7 separate regions of the Homo sapiens genome follow, and all the other regions are linked to region 6. Evidence: promoter capture Hi-C in 16 types of primary human blood cells and fetal thymus (Javierre and others, 2016). All regions are on one chromosome and are shown on one strand. Each heading gives the region's core, a stretch centred on a gene start or on the middle of the fragment in contact. The rest is flanking DNA. Distances are from core to core; before and after follow the strand shown. Region 1 overlaps ADAP2 (ArfGAP with dual PH domains 2). Region 2 has its middle 42 kb from the start of COPRS. Region 3 overlaps RNF135 (ring finger protein 135). Region 4 overlaps UTP6 (UTP6 small subunit processome component). Region 5 overlaps COPRS (coordinator of PRMT5 and differentiation stimulator). Region 6 holds the start of RAB11FIP4 (RAB11 family interacting protein 4). Region 7 overlaps ADAP2 (ArfGAP with dual PH domains 2).

What was found. The method cuts DNA at HindIII sites, captures the fragments that hold promoters and counts their contacts. A CHiCAGO score of 5 or more calls a contact.
Region 1: a fragment that was not itself captured here is called in contact with the fragment with the promoter of RAB11FIP4 in region 6 in 2 of 17 cell types (endothelial precursors and naive CD4 T cells); the score reaches 5.9 in endothelial precursors.
Region 2: a contact is called between a fragment that was not itself captured here and the fragment with the promoter of RAB11FIP4 in region 6, in 5 of 17 cell types (M2 macrophages, M1 macrophages, neutrophils and 2 more). The highest score is 10.5, in M2 macrophages.
Region 3: a contact is called between a fragment that was not itself captured here and the fragment with the promoter of RAB11FIP4 in region 6, in 9 of 17 cell types (naive CD4 T cells, erythroblasts, naive CD8 T cells and 6 more). The highest score is 9.4, in naive CD4 T cells.
Region 4: a fragment that was not itself captured here is called in contact with the fragment with the promoter of RAB11FIP4 in region 6 in 2 of 17 cell types (endothelial precursors and neutrophils); the score reaches 7.7 in endothelial precursors.
Region 5: a contact is called between a fragment that was not itself captured here and the fragment with the promoter of RAB11FIP4 in region 6, in 10 of 17 cell types (M2 macrophages, M1 macrophages, M0 macrophages and 7 more). The highest score is 13.4, in M2 macrophages.
Region 7: a contact is called between a fragment that was not itself captured here and the fragment with the promoter of RAB11FIP4 in region 6, in 2 of 17 cell types (erythroblasts and megakaryocytes). The highest score is 8.5, in erythroblasts.

Annotation. Positions count from the first base shown.
Region 1 is chr17:30,954,168-30,956,870 of GRCh38, reverse strand. ADAP2 (ArfGAP with dual PH domains 2) reads right to left here. Exons shown (of 11, transcript NM_018404.3): 9 at 2,316-2,393; 10 at 402-630. Among named protein-coding and RNA genes, the nearest start is that of RNF135, 16 kb to the left of the region's middle. The HindIII fragment of the contact is 1,426 bases long and covers 709-2,134 here.
Region 2 is chr17:31,815,620-31,818,319 of GRCh38, reverse strand. No RefSeq gene overlaps it. Among named protein-coding and RNA genes, the nearest start is that of COPRS, 42 kb to the left of the region's middle. The HindIII fragment of the contact is 2,768 bases long and covers 1-2,700 here.
Region 3 is chr17:30,996,989-30,999,688 of GRCh38, reverse strand. RNF135 (ring finger protein 135) reads right to left here. Exons shown (of 5, transcript NM_032322.4): 4 at 2,358-2,447; 5 at 1-1,027. The coding sequence ends at 498. Among named protein-coding and RNA genes, the nearest start is that of RNF135, 27 kb to the right of the region's middle. The HindIII fragment of the contact is 1,266 bases long and covers 641-1,906 here.
Region 4 is chr17:31,877,683-31,880,382 of GRCh38, reverse strand. It overlaps UTP6 (UTP6 small subunit processome component), which reads left to right. Exons shown (of 19, transcript NM_018428.3): 12 at 1,602-1,681; 13 at 2,056-2,133. Among named protein-coding and RNA genes, the nearest start is that of COPRS, 20 kb to the right of the region's middle. The HindIII fragment of the contact is 1,453 bases long and covers 653-2,105 here.
Region 5 is chr17:31,852,367-31,855,066 of GRCh38, reverse strand. COPRS (coordinator of PRMT5 and differentiation stimulator) reads left to right here. Exons shown (of 4, transcript NM_018405.4): 3 at 2,037-2,255. Among named protein-coding and RNA genes, the nearest start is that of COPRS, 5.5 kb to the left of the region's middle. The HindIII fragment of the contact is 7,003 bases long and covers 1-2,700 here.
Region 6 is chr17:31,390,352-31,393,051 of GRCh38, reverse strand. It overlaps RAB11FIP4 (RAB11 family interacting protein 4), which reads right to left and starts at 1,377. Exons shown (of 15, transcript NM_032932.6): 1 at 1,041-1,377. The coding sequence starts at 1,199. RefSeq lists an enhancer at 1,573-2,162. The HindIII fragment of the contact is 11,828 bases long and covers 1-2,700 here.
Region 7 is chr17:30,936,560-30,939,259 of GRCh38, reverse strand. All of the region lies in intron 5 of ADAP2 (ArfGAP with dual PH domains 2), which reads right to left. Among named protein-coding and RNA genes, the nearest start is that of ADAP2, 16 kb to the right of the region's middle. RefSeq lists a silencer at 778-978. The HindIII fragment of the contact is 727 bases long and covers 1,005-1,731 here.

The DNA of each region.
Region 1 (2,703 bases), core at 172-2,671, 440 kb after region 6:
TCCCAGGAGCTGCCCAGCGGGTGTGACCTTAGCTAATAATAACAGGCCAGCGTTTTCTCACGAGAAAAAGGATCAGCATAGAGCACGGTGGAGGGAAAGAGAAGCTGCTTAGCCCCCACACCGCAAGGGGTACAGACAGCACCCAGGGGTTCTGCCAGGGCCAAACTCCTCTAAAAGCTCCTGGGGAAGGGCTCGGTTAGGGGAACCCAGAGTGGACAGAGGAGACCTTTTGGCAATAATGGCATGTCTGTGCTTTTCTTTTGCAGGAAGAGAAGACAATGAAAAGAGCATAGTCAGGAATCAGGAATCTTTTGTGGTATCAAAGCTGAACCTAAGTGAAGAAGCAATTTTCTGTCCTCTGCCCTTGTCCAAAAGAACACCCCTCAGTTCCTGCTTCTTACTAAGCCGGTTGAGGGGCGTCAAGGGGCTGGACAGGACACCCCGCAAACTTTCCAGCCATTCCTGCTGTTCCTTCTCACTGGGGCAAGTGAGGACAAATCTCCGCTCTGGGGTGACAATGGTGAGTCCGGCTTTCCAGCGATTTCCTCGGATGCCCTTGGGCAGGTCTTCGTAGGCTTCATATCCCTGCTCCTTGTTCCCAAGAAAAACCTGGCCCTGCTCGAAGGCATCCTGAAAATGGAGAGTACAGGGTCATCAGAGGGTGCCCCCAGGGCAGAGGGGCCCTGCAGCCCTGACAGCCTCCAAGCTTTATTTTGGGAAAGGGGTATGAGGTCCCTGCTGGGATTTCTGCTAAGTGGGACCCAGAATTTGAAAGATCAAAACCCTAAAATAAATCATACACATCATCTATTGAAAAGATACCGAGGGTGGGCCTGGTAGTTCATGCCTGTAATCCTAGCACTTTGGGAAGCCAAGGCAGAGGATTGCCTGAGGCCAGGAATATGAGACCAACCGGGACAACATAGTGAGACCCCTTCTCTACAAAAAAAAATTATTAATTATTATTATGAATTGTTTTTGGAGACAGGGCCTCACTCTGTCACCCAGGCTGGAAGTGCAGTGGCACAATCATGGCTCATCCCAGCCTCAACCTCCCAGGCTCAGGCAATCCTCCCACCTCAGCCTCCCAAGCAGCTAGGACTACAGGCATGCACCACCACACCTGACTAATTTTTAAGTTTCTTTTTTTTTCTTTCTTTTTTTTTTTTTGAGACGGAGTCTCACTCTGCACCCAGGCTGGAGTGCAATGGCATGCACCCTCTGCACCCTCTGCCTCCCGGTTTCAAGCGATTCTCCTGCCTCAGCCTCCTGAGTAGCTGGGCTTACAGGCACGCACCACCACGTCCGGCTAATTTTTGTATTTTTAGTAGAGACAGGGTTTCACCATGTTGGTTAGGCTAGTCTCGAACTCCTGAGCTCGTGATCTGCCCCGCCTCAGCCTTCCAAAATGCTGGGTTTACAGATGTGAGCCACCGTGCCTGGCCTTAAGTTTCTTGTAGAGATGGGATCTCACTATGTTGCACAGGCTGGTCTCGAACTTCTGGGCTCAAGCGATCCTCCTGTCTCAGCCTCCCAAAGTGCTGGGATTACAGACAAAAGGCAGCACATCCAGCCCTAAATTTTTTTTTTTTAATTAGCTGGGCATGGTGATGCATGCCTGTATTCTGAGCTACTTAGGAGGCTGAGGCAGGAAGATAACTTGGGCCCAGAAGTTCAAGGTTGCAATGAGCTGTGATTGTGCCACTGCATTCCAGCCTGGGTGACAGAGAGAGACTCTGTCTCTAAAAAAAAAAAAATAAGTGATACCTAACATTTACGGAGCACTTATTAAAATCAGCATCAGGAATTACAATGCTTTATATATAGTAACTTAAATAACCATCATGGCAACCTCTGGGGAAGGCATTCTTATTAAGCCTGTTTTTCAGAGGAGGAAACCGAGGCACAGAGCACTAAGTACACGGCTCAAGGCAACACTACTACAAGTGGCAGGGCTGAGACCAGAGCCCAGACGGTGGGGTTCTAGAGTCCACCACACTCCTAACTACTACACATCACGGCCTCTTGGTTAGAAGTGAGCCCTGGAGACTAGAGGAAGAGATACACCATATTTAACTACCATGGGCAGCATTTTGGATACTCATAATAGACTTCCTGAAAGCGAGGAGAAGCTTCATGCCATAGGAGATTACTCAAGAGAAACAAAAACAAGGGGTAGAGGTTTTCCTCTCAAGGTTTCTCTAGCTCTGGGGCTCTGGGAGATGTGTTTATCTGTAGCTTTCACATAGTTCCAGACAAGCACCACCCAGCAATGTTTGAGGAAGCCCTGGGGAGGGAGCAGGAGTGGCTCTTACCAGTGGGTTCTTGTAATAGAGCAGCCTCCGCTCATGGCAATCCAGGGCGAACCACCTTTTCTTGAAAGGTTCTTTCTGCTGCAAAAGAGGGAACTTCTTACCACAGATGACCAGGTCAGTTTCTGAGGATAGAGGTCAGGGGCCAGCCCAGCCCAAACCAAAGGAGCTGGCCAGTCCCACTGGTTCTCCAGCCCAGCCTCCTCAGTCAGACATCCTAGTGCTTCTCCCTGGGGCCTGGATAGGAGCCCTCAGGCTCTGAAGGTTCTGCCCATTCCCCTTCCAACCCCACCATACCCTTTGCCAGCTTCACCCTGCTGCCTCAACTTGGAAGAGGCACCTTCCTCTTTTTCAGGCTGTAGACAAAGAAGCCGGAAAGGAAGTTGGAAAA
Region 2 (2,700 bases), core at 109-2,608, 430 kb before region 6:
TTCGCCCTTAAAATGAATGGGATGATGAACCCCAAACTCGTTAGCTAGGCGGGGCGCAGTGGTGCATGCCTGTAATCCCAGCACTTTGGGAGGCCAAGGTAGGCAGATCGCTTCAGCCCAGGAGTTTGAGGCCTGATGAATATAGCGAGACCTTGTCTCTGCAAAAAATTGAAAAATTAGTTGGGCATCGTGGTGTGCACTTGTGGTCCCAGCTACTCAAAGAGGCTGAGGTGGGAGGATTGCTTGAGCCTACAAGGTCAAGGCTGCAGTGAGCTATGATCACACCATGGCACTCTAGCCTGGGCAACAGAGCAAGACCCTGTCTCAAAAAAAAAAAAAAAAGAAACAATATATAAAGTTCTGTAATTCACATTACTGAAATTGGAAAGATAATCAACATGACCAAACTTAATCATAGTTGTGTCTGGATGTTCTGTAAATGGACCAGTGATGTTTGAATGAATATAATAAAAACATAAAAACTTAAAATTGTTTTAATATGTGTTTTCAAAAGTTAATTTTGAATATTTCATTTTATTTTATTTTTTCAAGATGGAATTCCGCTTTTGTCTCCCAGGCTGGAGTGCAATGGCACAATCTTGGCTCACTGCACCTCTGCCTCCTGGGTTCAAGTGATTCTCCTGCCTCAGCCTCCCCAGTAACTGGGATTACAGGTGTGCATCGCCATGCTTGGCTAATTTTTGTATTTTTAGTAGAGATGGGGTTTCACCATGTTGGCTAGACTGGTCTTGAACTCCTGACCTCACATGATCCACCTGCCTCGGCCTCCCAAAGTGCTGGGATTACAGGCGTTAACCACCATGCCTAGCTTTAATTTTGAATATTTTAGAAGAAAGTATATTAAAATTAAAAGATATCCAGGAAGCTCCCCATTTATTTAGGTTTCTTTAATGATTTTCAAAAGGATTTTATAATTTTCTCCATAAATCACTTTTGTTAGATTTATTCATTTCAGTTTATCTTTTTAGCATGACTATCTTTTTTTTTTATTTTCAAGGGATGGGGTCTTTGTATGCTGCCCAGGCTGTACTCAAATTCCTGGGCTTAAGCAATCTTCCCACCTCAGCCTCCTGAGTAAAGACAACAGCATGTGTTACTATGCCCAACCGATGATTATCTTTTTAAAAATTACTTTTGTAATTTGATGCTGGTTGTAGAAATTCATTGACTGTTGTATATTAATTTTTTTATTCAGCAACTTGCTAAACTTTTTTATTAAAGCTAATAATTTCTTTATAGATTTTTGTGTTTTCTATGTAGCCCAATCATATACATGAATAACGAATATTTTATTCTTTTCTAATTCTTATGCCTTTATTATTCTTCTCTTCATCCAATATGATATTGAATAAAAATGTTATAAGCAGGCACTCTTTTCTTTGGTCTCAAAGGGAGAGTATTCAATGCTTCACCATTAAATTAGATTTCTGCATTTTTAATTGTTGTTGGAGAAAGTGGTCTATAGGATACCAGTATACCAGTCCTTTGAAATTTGTTGAGACCTGAATGTAATTAAATTTCTTAAGTATTCTATGTATTTCTGGGAAATGTATATTCTAAAATAGATGGGTGCAGTGATTTATATCACTTTAAAAAGTTAAACATCTTATATATAAGAAAACTTCCAAACTGTTTTCTAAAGAGGTTGCATCATTTTACATTCCCACCAGCATCATATGAAAGTTCCAGTTTTTCCATATCATTGCCAACACTTGGAATAGTTATTATTATTATTATTAGTTTATTTATTTTTTGAGACGGAGTCTCACTCTGTTGCCCAGGCTGGAGTGCAGTGGCGCGATCTTGGCTCACTGCAACCTCTGCCTCTCGGGTTCAAAAAATTCTCTGTCTCAGTCTCCCAAGTAGCTGAGATTACAGGTGCCTGCCACCACACCCAGCTAATCTTTTTGTATTTTTAGTAAAGACGGGGTTTCACCATCTTGCCAGGTTGGTCTTGAACTTCTGACCTCGTGATCCACCCGCTTCGGCCTCCCAAAGTGCTGGGATTACAGGTGTGAGCCACCGCACCTGGCTTGAAATAGTATTTTTAATGTTAGTCATTCTAGTGGTGTGTGTGGTATCTCATGGTGGTTTATTTGAATTTACCTAATAACAAATGATGTTGAGCCTCTTCTCATGAGCTTATTTGCCATCTGTATATCTTCTTTGGTGAAGTGTCTGTTCAAATCTCTTGCCCATTTTCTCTCTTCTTTTTTTGAGACAGAGTCTCGCTCTGTCACCCAGGTTGGAGTGCAGTGGCACGATCTTGGCTCACTGCAAGCTCTGCCTCCTGGGTTCATGCCATTCTCCTGCCTCAGCCTCCCGAGTAGCTGGGACTACAGGCACCCGCAACCACGCCAGGCTAATTTTTTGTATTTTTAGTAGAGACGGGGTTTCACTGTGTTAGCCAGGATGGTCTCTATCTCCTGACCTCGTGATTTGCTTGCCTCGGCCTCCCAAAGTGCTGGGATTACAGGTGTGAGCCACCGCACCCAGCCTCTCTTGCCCATTTTCTAACTCAATTGTCTGTCTTATTATTGAGTTACCAGAGTTCTTTATATATCCTAGATATAAAAATTTTGTCAGATATATGCTTTGTAATATTTTCTCCTAGTCTTGCCTCCTACTGTGGCAATAGGACTAGTTCAGGAACCATCAATGACATGTGAGTGGAAGTGA
Region 3 (2,700 bases), core at 24-2,523, 390 kb after region 6:
CTTTTACTAGGGATTGATCACATTGGCATGCTTCACTGCCCACATGGCTAACTTAGTCTCCTCAGCTTGACCTTGCAAGGTCAAGCTGATACTGCATGGCCCAAGGCCCACAGGTAAACAAAAACACTCTTATCAGGCAAGATATTCTAATGGCTTAGAGGTTATCTCCCAGGAGCCAGGCAGGGGCCTATTCTTTATTTGGAATGTCCAGGGTTCAAACATCCCAAGTTCATCCTGTATCACACAAAAGGATTAACTTCAAAAGTGGTATTCTTGGCCAGGTGTGGTGGCTCACACCTGTAATCCCAGCACCTTGGGAGGCTGAGGTGGGAGGACTGCTTGAGACCAGGAATTCGACACCAGCCTGGGCAACCTAGTGAGATCCCATCTCTATCGTAATTTTTCTAAAAAGTGGTATTCTTAAGTCAAGTTACTACCCTGATTGATGACAGGGAGAGAGACCAGGAAACCACTGTGTTGTAATCCCTTAGGAAACCTTACACCTTTACTTGCTTTATTATCAGGTAATTTCCAGGATGTAAGCCATACAGCCAGAAGGCAGGGTACAAAGGAGAGGAGGCAGAGATGGTACACTCATACAGAAGCTTCTCCTGATTGTCCACTGAATAGAAGGCAAGCTTTCCCTCCTCAAGGTTCAGCCAGATGCCCACCACCCCAGGTCTGTCTGAGCCAAGGACAGTTTCCTTGACCATGTGCCATGCAGAGAGCTGGCTAGTCCCCTTCCATTCCACACAACAAGAGTCCATAGTCCTTCCCAGGACCTGGTCGCGGCTCATCTCCCAGGAAGCCACCCCAACTGCCCAGTGGCTGCAATTCCTAGTGTCCACTTCCCAGTAATGCTTTCCAGAAGACAGGGCCTGGGAACATAAGACCTGGCTGGTAGAAAACCTCTCACAGCTCCAGCGATAGGGTTGTGGGCGGTGAGACACAGTCACTGTACGGGAATCCTTGGACACCTCCAGGCTGCAGGAAAGGCTCTTCAAGTTAAAGGTTGGATGGATGGCCCCTTTGGAAAAAAAAAAAGAACAATAAGAACATGGCCGGTCATCTTTTGATGGTCCATGCTAAGAAGTCTTCAAATAGCAACTTTGTATCTTTTGGTGTGATGTTTCACTCACACTAGCATTAAAATTGCTACATCACCCAACAGGAAGAAATGATAAATGTTTCAGATGATAGATATGCTAACTACCTTGATCGGATCACTATGCACCATATGTATTGAAACATCACTATGTATCCCATAAATATGTACACTTATTATATTTATTTATTTTTAAAATTTATTTAGAAAAGAAGCAGGATTTTGCCATGCTTCCTAGGCTGGTGTCGAACTCCTGAGCTCCAGCAATCCTGCCATCTCAGCCTCCCAAAGTGCTGCAATTACAGGCATGAGCCACTGCACCCAGACTATACAATTATTATATGTCAATTTTAAAAATCAGGCCAGCTCCTTCAGCCAGGTGCACTGGCTTACCCCTGTAATCCCAGCACTTTGGGAGGCTGAGGCAGGTGGAACACTTGAGGCCAGGAGGTCAAGACCAGCCTGGCCATCATGGCCAACTCCTGTCTCTATTAAACATACCAAAATTAGCTGGGCGTAGGCAAGGTGCGGTGGCTCACGCCCGTCTTATGGTGATTTATGACCACAGCTGTTTATACCTTCCCAGTTAAACTGAAACTTCCTGATTGAGGACCATGTCTTACTCACTTTGTATATTTCATTTGGTTTCCTATTGAGTGAATAAATTGCTAACACTTATACAGCATGACTACTCTAGGTGTTTTACTCATACTCACTCACTTAACCCTCATGGCAATCCCGCAAGAGAAGTACTATATTATCTCCATTTTACAGATGAGGAAACCCAGGCTCTAGGAAGCTTAAGTGACTTGCCCAAGATCACACAGCTAGTTAGTGGAGCTGCTGGGAGTCAAACCCAAGCAGTCTGGCTCTGGGATCCATGCTCTTAAGGACTATCCCAGACTGAGATGGCAGAAATACCTCAGCAGGTTTAGGAAGAGGCAGTTGGCTATAGTTGGTGGCCACAGCACAGATGCAGAAATACCTCAGCAGGTTTGGGAACAGGCAGTTGGCTGTAGTTGGTGGCCACAGCAGAGATGCTCAAAGGTTGGCGGGACTCTGAGTGCTCTTGGGTCTAGAGTCTCAACCTGCTTTGCCTTTGCAATCAGCTCCCCCCGTGGAGGGACCTGGAACAAATCCATGTGCAGTAAGCCAAGGAGTGGCCCTAGCAGTAGGGAGATGGATGTAGGATATTCTCGAAGCCCGCTCTGCGGCAAGCCAAACCCATGTTTAAAGTGGACCACATACTTACACTGAGCAAACCGAGAAGCTCTCCTGAGTGCAGGGTGGCTCTGGTCAGGCAATGGGCATGAGGAGGAAGACGGGGCTTCCAGGAGTTCTCCTAAGTAACAAAAAAATTAACAGAGGAAAGTCCCATCAGAAAAAGGCAAACTGAAGGTCTCCAAACATCATGGTCAAGGCACATGGCTGGCTTGTCTTCTTATCATCTACACATTTTTCAGTGTCAGGACTGGATCAGGCAGAGGCAGTGTGCCTGCAGCCCAGGTATGTGCACCTCCATGTTCTCACTGTGGACTTTTCACTCTTTCTTCACTAAGCTCTCAGCTCCTTGCTAGCAAAGATCTTGTTCATCT
Region 4 (2,700 bases), core at 130-2,629, 490 kb before region 6:
GTGGCTCGATTTCGGCTCACTGCAACCTCCACCTCCCGGGTTCAAGCAATTCTCCTGCCTCAGCCTCCCAAATAGCTGGGACTACGGGTGCCCGCCACCATGCCCAGCTAATTTTTTTGTATTTTAGTAGAGACGGGGTTTCACTGTGTTGCCCAGACTGGTCTCGAACTCCTGAGCTCAGGCGATCTACTTGCCTTGGTCTCCCAAAGTGCTAGGGTTACAGGATTACAGGCGTGAGCCACCGTGCCTGGGTTTTTTTTGTTTTTTGTTTTTTTTTGAGACAGAGTCTCACTCTGTTGCCCAGGCTGGAGTGCAATGGTGTGATCTCGGCTCACTGCAGCCTCCACCTCCCAGGTTCAAGCGATTGTCCTGCCTCATCCTCCCGAGTAGCTGGGATTACAGGCGTGTGCCACGATGCCTGGCTAATTTTTGTATTTTTAGTACAGACGGAGTTTCACCATGTTGGCCAGGCTGGTCTTGAACTCCTGACCTCAGGTGGTTTGCTCACTTTGGCCTCCTAAAGTGCTGGGATTACACGCATGAGCCACCGCATTTGGCCGTGCCTGGCTTTCTAACTTGGTCTTGGCTTTCTAACTTTTATGACCTTCCTCCATAGTAGTGGTATTTATGTTCATCTATTTTGGGGGAAGCTTAGGAAATAATTTCTAAGATTCTTCAATTATTATTTCTTAATTATCTATGTTTTTTTTTGAGACAGGATCCTGCTGTGTCACCCAGGCTGGAGTGCAGTGGCGCAATTTCAGCTCACTCCAACCTCTGCCTCCTGGGTTGAAGCAATCCTCCCGCCTCAACCCCCTGAGTAGCTGGGTCTACAGGCGCATGCCTCCACGCCAGGCCAATTTTAATGTATTTTTTGTAGAGATGGAGTTTTGCCATGTTGCCCAGGCTGGTCTTGAACTGCTAGAATCAAGTGATCTGCATGCCTCGGCCTCCCAACTTGCTAGGATTACCGACATCCTTAATTATCTTTTTGAGACAGAGTCTCACGCTGTTGCCCAGGCTGGAGTACAGTGACACGATCTCGGGTTACTACAACCTCTTCCTCCCAGGTTTAAGCAATTCTCCTGCCTCAGCCTCCCGAGTAGCTGGGATTACAGGTGCATGCCACCATGCCCCATGGATTTTTGTATTTTTAGTAGAGATGAGGTTTCACCACGTTGGCCAGGCTGGTCTTGAACTCCTGACTTCAGGTGATCAGCCTGCCTCAGCCTCCCAAAGTGATGGGATTACAGATGTGAACCACTGCCTCGCCCTTAATTATCTTTGGAAAGTGATTTAATTTTTATTTTGTAATAATGTAGAATAAAGGCAGAGGGGATATATAACCTGGATAAGGCTTTCAATTTTTATATTTAAGCTGTTACTCAGTTGTTTTCCCCCAATATTTGAGGTGTTTGATTGGCTGTAGTCAGCATAACACTTCTTAAAATCAGGCTGATTTAAACTCTTCTTCAGAGGAGAGTTTTCCCCTTGAAGTAAAGGTGTAGGATGACTGTTTTTTTCCTTATCTTTTAATAACTTTGATGTGATGAATGTTGAACTAAGTGATCTGATCAACACAATCTTTCTGACTTTTCCAGAGGCCATGTGGAAGTGTTACATCACCTTTTGCTTGGAAAGATTTACTAAGAAGTCAAATAGTGGGTTCCTTAGAGGGAAGGTGAGGTTGTTACATGGTTACAGTGGTTGACTAGATAGTGACTGCCTTCTGAAAGAACAGAAGCACAGATCTTTTGGTGTCTGGCACAGTTTCTGAGAACTTTTATGTTTAGCCACTCTCTCTCTCCTTGTGGGTGACGTGACATTCTAAAGGTCTGAGTCTGGTTTGCCGCCAGGTTAGGAGGGGCTCTCGTGTAACTGGGCTCTGTTCGGTGCAGCTGCCCATTGCATCTATTCATAAGTGAAACCACCATGCAGGAGCAAGTCAGCTTCTTTGAATTTTAAGAAATGCGCAAAACTGCTTTTGTTCATGTCAGAGGCCAGAGGCCCCTGCTGGGATCTTTGTAATGAACTGAGGGATTTTTCTGTTTTCAGAGGTTGGAAAGAACCATGACTGTATTCAGGAAGGCACATGAACTGAAGCTTCTGTCAGAATGCCAATACAAGCAGTTGGTAAGAACATAGAGAAAATATTCTGTGCCAGTTACAAATACCTTATTCCAGTTGTTTTGTGCCAGAGTCATGTTTTAAATATATATAGTCTTAAGATGAAGGCCACTTGGGAGTTCGGTATGTGAAGTGTGTTTATATGTGTTTCCCAGTATTTGGCCTATGCAAAAAATGAAATCTGTACTAGCAAAGGGAGGAGTATTATACAGTGAAAAGCACTTAGAACAAGAGTCATGATTTGGGTTTATTTTGTTTGTCCACCCATTCCTTTTTTTTTTTTTTTTTTGAGACGGAGTTTCACTCTGTTGCCCAGGCTGGAGCACAGTGGCGCGATCTCAGCTCACTGCATCCTCTGCCTCTTGGGTTCAAGTGATTCTTGTGCCTTAGCCTCCCAAGTAGCTGGGATCACAGGTGCATGCCACCACGCCCAGCTAATTTTTGTATTTTTGGTAGAGACGGGATTTCACCATCTTGGCTGGGCTGGTCTCTAACTTCTGACCTCAAGTGATCCCCCTGCCTCGGCCTCCCAAAGTGCTGGGACTAAGGCATGAGCCATCATGCCTGGCCAAA
Region 5 (2,700 bases), core at 20-2,519, 460 kb before region 6:
ACCCTATCTTCATTTTACAGATGTGGAAGTTGAGGCACAGAACAGTTAAATAAAAACAATTTAAAAATTGTGGTAAAAGATGCATAACCTAAATTTACCATGTAACCATTTTAACGCATATAATTCAGTAGCCTTTTAGCACAATGGCAGTGTTGTGCAACCATCACCACTACCTAGTTCCAGAATCTTTTCATCACCCTAAAAGGAAACCCTGTGCTCACCAAGTAGTCATTCTCCATTCCTTCCTTCTCTGAGCTCTTGGCAACCACTAATTTGCTTTCTGTCTCTGTGGGTTTATCTGTTCTGGATAGGCAAATGTGAGTTGCCTGTAAAGGGAATCATAACAATATGTGGCCTTTTGTGTCTGGCTTCTTCCACTTAGCGTATTTTCAAGGTGCATCCATGCCGTAGCATGTATCAGCACTGCATTCCTTTTTATGGCTGAATAATTCCATCATATGCATATACCACATTTTGTTTTTCCATTCATCCATTGATGGACATTTGATGTTGTGTCTACCTTTTGGTGATTGTAAATAGTGCTGCTGTGAGTATCCTTGTTTTATTTGAACAGCTGTTTTCAGTTCTTTTGGGTATATGTTTAGGACTGGGATTGCTGGGTCATATGGTAATTCTATATTTATGTTATGGAACTAGTTAAGTAAATTTCAGCTCAATCACACTTTTTTTTTTTTTTTTTTTTTTTTTTTTGGAGACAGGGTCTCACTCTGTGCAATGGCACGATCTTGGCTCACTGCAGCCTCCACCTCCCAGGTTCAAGCGATCCTCCCACCTCAGCCTCTTGAGTAGCTGGGATTACAGGTGCATGCCACTGCACCCAGCTAAATTTTTTGAATTTTTTGTAGAGACAGGGTTTGCGACATTGTTCAGGCTGGCCTTGAACTCCTGAGCTCAAGCAGTCCACCCACCTTGGCCTCCCAAAGTGCTAGGTTTACAAGGGTGAGCTACCGTGCCCGGCCCAGTCCGATGTTTGGTAATTGACAAAACACGGATTTGAAATCAGACAGTCTGGCTTTAGACCCCTTGCTCTGAACTATCACTTTATTGCTTATCACTGTTACTGTTGTTCCAGTATTAAGAGCATGGCTGTTTTAGGCTGATTGCCTTCTCTCCTGGGACCTGGCATCACCAAAGCACTATGTGCTCGGAAATCCATTATCTTTCCCCAGTCTTTCCTCCGTTATTGTGAGGCCTTTTGAAAATGTACCTTCCGGCCTCCCTGATGTCAGAGGGAGGCACTAGGTGCTGCCCATTGTGATTAGATGGGTTCTGGTCTTCTGCCTGCAGTGCCCCTGCTCCCCTTTGTCCCTGTGCTCACCTCTAACATGCTCTTTGAGGCTGAAGGGAGGAATAAAAGAGCAAAAACAACCGGGCACAGTGGCTTACGCCTGTAATCCCAGCACTTTGGGAGGCCGAGGCGGGTGGATCACAAGGTCAGGGGTTCAAGACCAGCCTGGCCAAGATGGTGAAACCCCGTCTCTACTAAAAATACAAAAAAATTAGCTGGGCGTGGTGGCGGGCGCTTGTAATCCCAGCTGCTCAGGAGGCTGAGGCAGAGAATTGCTTGAACCTGGGAGGTAGAGGTTGCAGTGAGCCGAGATGGTGCCATTGCATTCCAGCCTGGGCGACAGAGCGAGACTCTGTCTCAAAAAAAAAAAAAAAAGAGCAAAAACTTAATTCAGGCTTGTATTGTGAAAGTGTATTATTTATCAGAGGCCCTTTGCCTCAGTGACATACAAACCACCTGAAAATGTTAACTGTCCCTAGCCCTCTTTGTAAATTAAAGGACCTGACAATTAATGCCTTGTATAAGACAAAACGTCTTATTGAAAATAAATTATCAGCTCTTTTAAAAACATACAAAGAAGTGCATTTTTAAAAAAGTGCTCGGTGGCTAAAGAAGACTCTGTGCACTTGTTTTACTACCTTCGTAGTAAGTCTGCCCAAAATTTACTGAGCACAGAGCAGGTCCTCTTTGGTTTGTCACTAAGGCCATCTTCTCTTTGTCAATTTAGCCCGTGGAACACAGAGCATTCCTAATGACAGTCCTGCCCGGGGTGAGGGCACCCATTCTGAAGAGGAAGGCTTTGCCATGGATGAGGAGGACTCTGATGGAGAACTGAATACCTGGGAGCTGTCAGAAGGGACAAACTGTCCACCCAAGGAACAGCCTGGCGATCTTTTTAATGAGGACTGGGACTCGGAGTTGAAAGCAGATCAAGGGAATCCATATGGTAGGTGTGGAGTCTCTGGGGGTCCTGAACTAGGCCTTCTCAGACACACCTGTCAGACCAGCCCTGAAGGCAGTTTGGAACAGGGGTCCACATCTATGAGCTTAGGCTGGTATCTGTTACAGGTCTCCAATTTCTGTGACACCTTCTCTTTTATATTGAAAAAATCCAAATTTTGCATTTGACTCCATAATGTATCACTGTTTTAAAGTCAAAACTGTTACTCTCTCCAAAAATCTCTGCTATGAATTGAGCAGCTGCAGATAGAAGTGCTGTGTTATCCAGTTTGCTTCTTCACTGCTAAGAACCCTTGTCTGAGAAGCATAGCTTCTCAGCTGTTCCGAATGAACGCATTTACAATTCTTCAGGAAAGGAGAACTGTGTGTGTTTTTAAACAAAATAAGTGCAAGGATCTGTCCCCTAGACATACCTTTTTGGCTGTCCGTTT
Region 6 (2,700 bases), core at 128-2,627:
GGCACGGGCCCAACCTGGCCATCACCCAGCTTCTCCCATGTTCTGAAATGCCTGGTCCGACCTGTTCTGGGAACACAATGCCAGCCAGTGCCCATTTGAGGCCCATGGCCCCAGGCCCCCCATGCAGGGCCTGAGGCCTTAGATGGCCTTGGAAACCCACTTCTCAGGGCTTTTGGCTCCAGGGGAAACCCCTGACCATTTCAGCCAGGTGGGTGTCTTGTCCTCCCCTTGAGACACAGTCCCCAGTCCCCATGCCGGTGGCACCAGAGGACACTGGTGTAGTGTGCGTTTAGTGATATGACTCCGTCCACCCTACTGGCGGCACCGACCCTCCGCTTCCAGCCCTGTTAACAATCTACGTAAGTCCTGCTTTCCCCAAATAGATGCGGCCCCGCCACATGAAAGCCCTCTGCTCAGCCACCACTCCCCGAGCCTGGCTTTGCCTGGCCTGCTGCAACCAACACAGCCAGCTGCCAGCCTGGCTGCCCAGCAGAGCCTGAATGAGAGGTCACCCGACACTGGCCCGGGAGTACACGGTGGCCCCAGCAGACACCTCCTTCCGTGTCTGGGCAGGGTGTGTGCAGCCGAGGAGCCAAGGCTGCAGAGCACCCCTACCGGTCCCTTTCACCCCCTGGCCCGGCCCAGCAGGACGTACACAGACCCTTGCATCTTGGTCTCCGCAGCGCCGGGTGGGGTGGGGAGCCTAGGGCCGGATTCTGGCAGCTCTCTCCCCCAGACAAGGGTGGATGTGCAGACCGCTCAGAAGGACCTGCATGGCCGAGGAAGGAAGGTGGGCGCAGAAGCCACCCTAGGCGTGACGCGTGACGCTCGGGGCACGGGCGCCGGGGGGCGGAAAGCGAGGGCCCGGCTGGGCCAGGGATACCCGGGGGGGGCCGAGGTCCTGGGCTCCGGCGGAGGGAGGGGATTGGGAGGGAGGCCACCGCCTCGGGCCACGCGGGTGACCCGGCGGGGGAGCTGGGGGAGGGGCGGCGGGGCTGGGCTGGGGTCCCCGGGCCGGGACTGGGGTCGGGCCAGCTTACCTCCTCGCCCTGGCCGAAGCGCAGTCCGAGCGCCGCGACGCGCTCCACGCGCAGGAAGCCGTCGGGGTCGCGGCCGCACACCTCGAACACCTCGCGCAGGCGGCGCACGGAGCGCAGCAGAGCCGCGGGGGCGCCCGACCAGCCCGCGCCGCCCGCCATCCGGGCCGGCCCGCAGCTCAGCCCGGACCCCTCGCCCGCCGCGCCCGCCGCCTGCCCGCCGCCGCCATCGCCGCGCGCCCTCCGGGGCCGCCCGTCTGGGTCTGCGCCGCGCAGCCTCCGCCCGGTGGCGGCCGCGGCCGATCCGTGTCAGCAGCGGCGCCGCAGCCCCAGCCGCTCCGGAGGGGAAGGGAGGGGAGGGGAGGGAAGGAGAAGAGTGGGGAGGGGAAGGAGGAGGGGCAATAGGGGGCGGGGAGGGGAGGGGCGGGGGCCGCGGCGAAAATGGGAGGGAGAGGGGGAGGCGGCGGGGGCGGCGGCGGCGGGGACGCTGCAGACAAAAGGAGCCCGCGTCCTCCCGAGTGGGGCGGCCCACGCGGGGCCGGCAGGCGCAGCGAGCTGCCAACGGCCGCGTCCTCCGCGACCTCAGTTTCCCTCCGCGTCCCCAGTTTCCCTCCGCGTCCCCGAGCCCACCCCTTCCTCTGGACACCCGGAGCCACCCAAAGGCCCTGCCCTGCCGGAGGATTCCGCGGGGTCGCGCCCCTTTCCGCTATCCGTGCCCGCTGCCGCGCCTGGCGTCTCCCGAGCGCTCAGGATGTCCTGGGGGCCTCCTGCATTGGCGCGTTCCGTGACTGCATTCATCCCGGAGGAAGCTGAGGCCCAGAGAGGTCGGACTCACTCTAGGCCACACAGCTGGCAAGAGGCAGGGCCGGGATTCGCTGCCATCTCTGGAGGGCTCTGGACTCCGTTCTTCACCTCCGCCCTGCGGTCTCCCGGCGCTCTCCTGCAAGACAGCACTTGTGGGGCCATCGGGCGGGGGAGGGCACAGAGAGGAGGAGCAGGCAACTGAACCCCAGCCTGGACCCGGGACCCTGCGACGGGGAGATGAGGAGAAAACCAGGATGAGGCCGGAGGGAGGAAAAGCGAGGCGCTTCCAGAGGCCTGCCTGTTCAGGGCCCAAGGCTGCTCCACGCCTGGAAGAGGCTTCCTCCCTTTCGCCGGGTTCCCACCATCACACCTCCCTGGCAGCCCGCATGCCCCAAGCTCAGAGAATCCAGGACAGAATCTCTGTCCCGCTGGCCGCAGGCTCTAGGTCAGGACCCTGGCCTCCTCCCATTAGTGCTCAGCGGAGCCTCCACCCCAGCTTGTGCTAACTTCCCAGCCCAGCCTCGGGGCCCTGCAGGACCCGGCCGGGCTCTTCTCTCCACCTTCTTGCTCGGCACATCAGGTCTTTGTGGCAACGACTGGCCCCAACCCAAAAAAAGGCCTTGGCTGAGTCTACTCCCACCTATGCTGTCATGCTCAGCACAGAGGTTTCCTCCTCCGGGAAGGCTTCTCTGATGGCACGCCATCTTATCTTCTATTCTGAGTTCTAAGCCCTTCTTCCAGGTGCCCAGTTAATTCTTAATTCTCTAGTGGGATGCCCATTTCCCCTACCATGCTGGGAAGCCCTCCAGGGCAAGATATGTCTTAATTACCTTCAAGTCCCTGATCTCCAGGCAAGAGT
Region 7 (2,700 bases), core at 119-2,618, 450 kb after region 6:
AACAGATCAACTTTTTTCAACCAATGATGAGGCCCTGTCCGAGAGACCAACTCGCAGCAGCTGCTGGGGTTTGGTGACCTTTCCTAACTGCAGTAGCGCTTTCTCTTCCGGCCTTTTGTACCATTTCAGCAAAAATGTTGAAAAAGCCACATTTTTCAGTGCTTTACATTGAAGACTGGGAAAAAATTCTTCCTCTAACTTGGAGGGTAAAGATTCTTCATCCCTTAACACTTTTTACTTGGTCCCAGACTGTGGCCACATTGGACAGACCTTTTATATTATTATTTATACAAATTTATGGGGTACATGTGAAATTTCGCTACATGTATATAATGTGTAGTGATCAAGCCAGGATATTTAGGGTGTTGGTCACCAGAGTATTTTTGTTAAGCATAGTTACCCCACTCTGGTATCAAATATTGAATTTATTCCTTGCATCTTACAATGTTTGTACCCTTTAACCCACTTCTCTTCATCCTCCCTTCTCCTCCCCATAGACAGACCTTTTAGCATTGCTCTGGTCTGCCTAGAAAAGCAACAGGGGGAATATATAATAATTCTACATATAGGAAATAGAGTAAGGTGAAGGCTAAAGTGCTCAGAGCTTATCCTTCTCTTACTTTGTTGGCCACAATTTCACATTCTCTTTGCTGAAAACTTCTTATCTTTCTGTCCTTTAAATACTGGAATGCCCCAGGGCTCAATGGGGTAGATGGTCTCCAAAGATGGCGCTCACCCAGTCTTTCCCTCCCAGTGTATACGTGACCCTCTATCCATGAAGAGGTTGAATCTATTTCCCCTCCCCTTGAATCAGGGCTTGTTGCATGACTTGCTTTGACCAACAGAATGCAGCTCCTGGTTAGCCTTCCAGAGGTCTGGTAGCATTTGCTTTTGTTTAGGGAAGTCAGCAGCCAAGCCACAAGAAAGCTTAAGCTAGACTCCTGAATGAGAAAGACAGAGCCCCCATATAGAGTACACCAAGGCACCAGACATGAGTGAAAGCTTCTTTGGGTCTCTGGCCAGCTAAGGGCAGCAGAGTAGCCCAGCTGATGCCACATGGAGTACACCAGAACAGCCGAGGCCTCCTCAAATTCCTGACCCATAGGATTGTGAGAAATAGTAAATTGATATTTTAAGCCATTAAGTTTTAGGATGGTTTGTTACTCAGCAACACATAACCAAAATACTCAGTCCTTGAACACCTTTTTCCTGCTTAGGTGATCCTAGCCAGTCCCATTACTAAACCAGTCTACATGCTGACGACTCCAGTTCCAAACTCTCTCCAAGCCTCCAAATCAGACATCCAACTTCTGCCACTTGGGTTTAGAATTCAGGAAACATACATCCAACTTCTTTCCCCATGTCTCTACTGGATGACTCATAGGCATCTCAAAATAAAAAGGACTTTTGAGCATCCCCTTAGGGGTCTAAGTCTTTGCCACCTTAGTAAATAGCAAATCTATTCTTGTAGTTTTATAGAGCAAAAATCTGGGAATCATCCTTGATTCCTCTTACTCTCACACCCCACATCCAATCCTTCAATAAATTCTATTGCCTCTACTTCCAAAATATATCCAGAATCTGACCACTTCTAACCATCCTGGTCGGATCCACCATTCTTCTTCACTTGGGTTATTGCAACAGCTTCCTGACTAATTTCTCTGCCTCTGCTCTGGCCTCCTTCCTCCCTACTCACCCTAGCAGCAGCCAGCGTGCTGCTTTTTAAAAGCTTAAGTCAGGCTGGGCGCAGTGGCTCATGCCTATAATCCCAGCATTTTGGGAGGCTGAGGTGGGCAGATCACATGAGGTTAGGAGTTCTAAATCAGCCTGGTCAACATGGTGAAACCCTGTCTCTACTAAAAATACAAAAATTAGCCGGGTGTGGTGGTGCACGCCTGTAGTCCCAGCTACTGGGGAGGCTGAGGCAGGGGAATCACTTGAACCCGGGAGGTGGAGGTTGCAGTGAGCCGAGATCACACCATTGCACTTCAACCTGAGCAATAGAGTGAAATCCCATCTCAAAAAATAAATAAATAGGCCGGGCGCGGTGGCTCACGCCTGTAATCCCAGCACTTTGGGAGGGTGAGGTGGGTGGATCACGAGGTCGGAAATTCAAGACCAGCCTGGCCAAGATGGTGGAACCCTGTCTACTAAAAATACAAAAACTAGCCAGGCATGGTGGTGCGCGCCTGTAATCCCAGCTACTCGAGAGACTGAGGCAAAGAATTGCTTGAACCTGGGAGGCAGAGGTTGCAGTGAGCCGAGATCACGCCACTGCACTCCAGCCTAGGTGACAGAGTGAGCCTCCATCTCAAATCAATCAATCAATCAAAAACTTAAGTCAAATAATATCACTTCTCAGCTCAAAATCCTCCAATTTCTTCCCATCTCACTCAGTAAAATCCAAAAGCTCAAATTTTTGCAAATCCTACATGTATAAGTGACTTGTATCTAGAATATATACAGAACTATTACAACTTAATAATAAAAAGACAAATAACCTAATTAAAATATGGGGAAAGTATCTGTGTTAGCCAAGATGGTCTCCATCTCCTGAACTCCTGATCTGCCCACCTCGGCCTCCCAAAGTGCTGGGATTACAGGCGTGAGCCACCGCGCCCGGCCAATATGGGAAAGGATCTGAATAGACATTTCTACAAATAAGATATACAAATGGCCAATAAGCACATTAAAAAGATG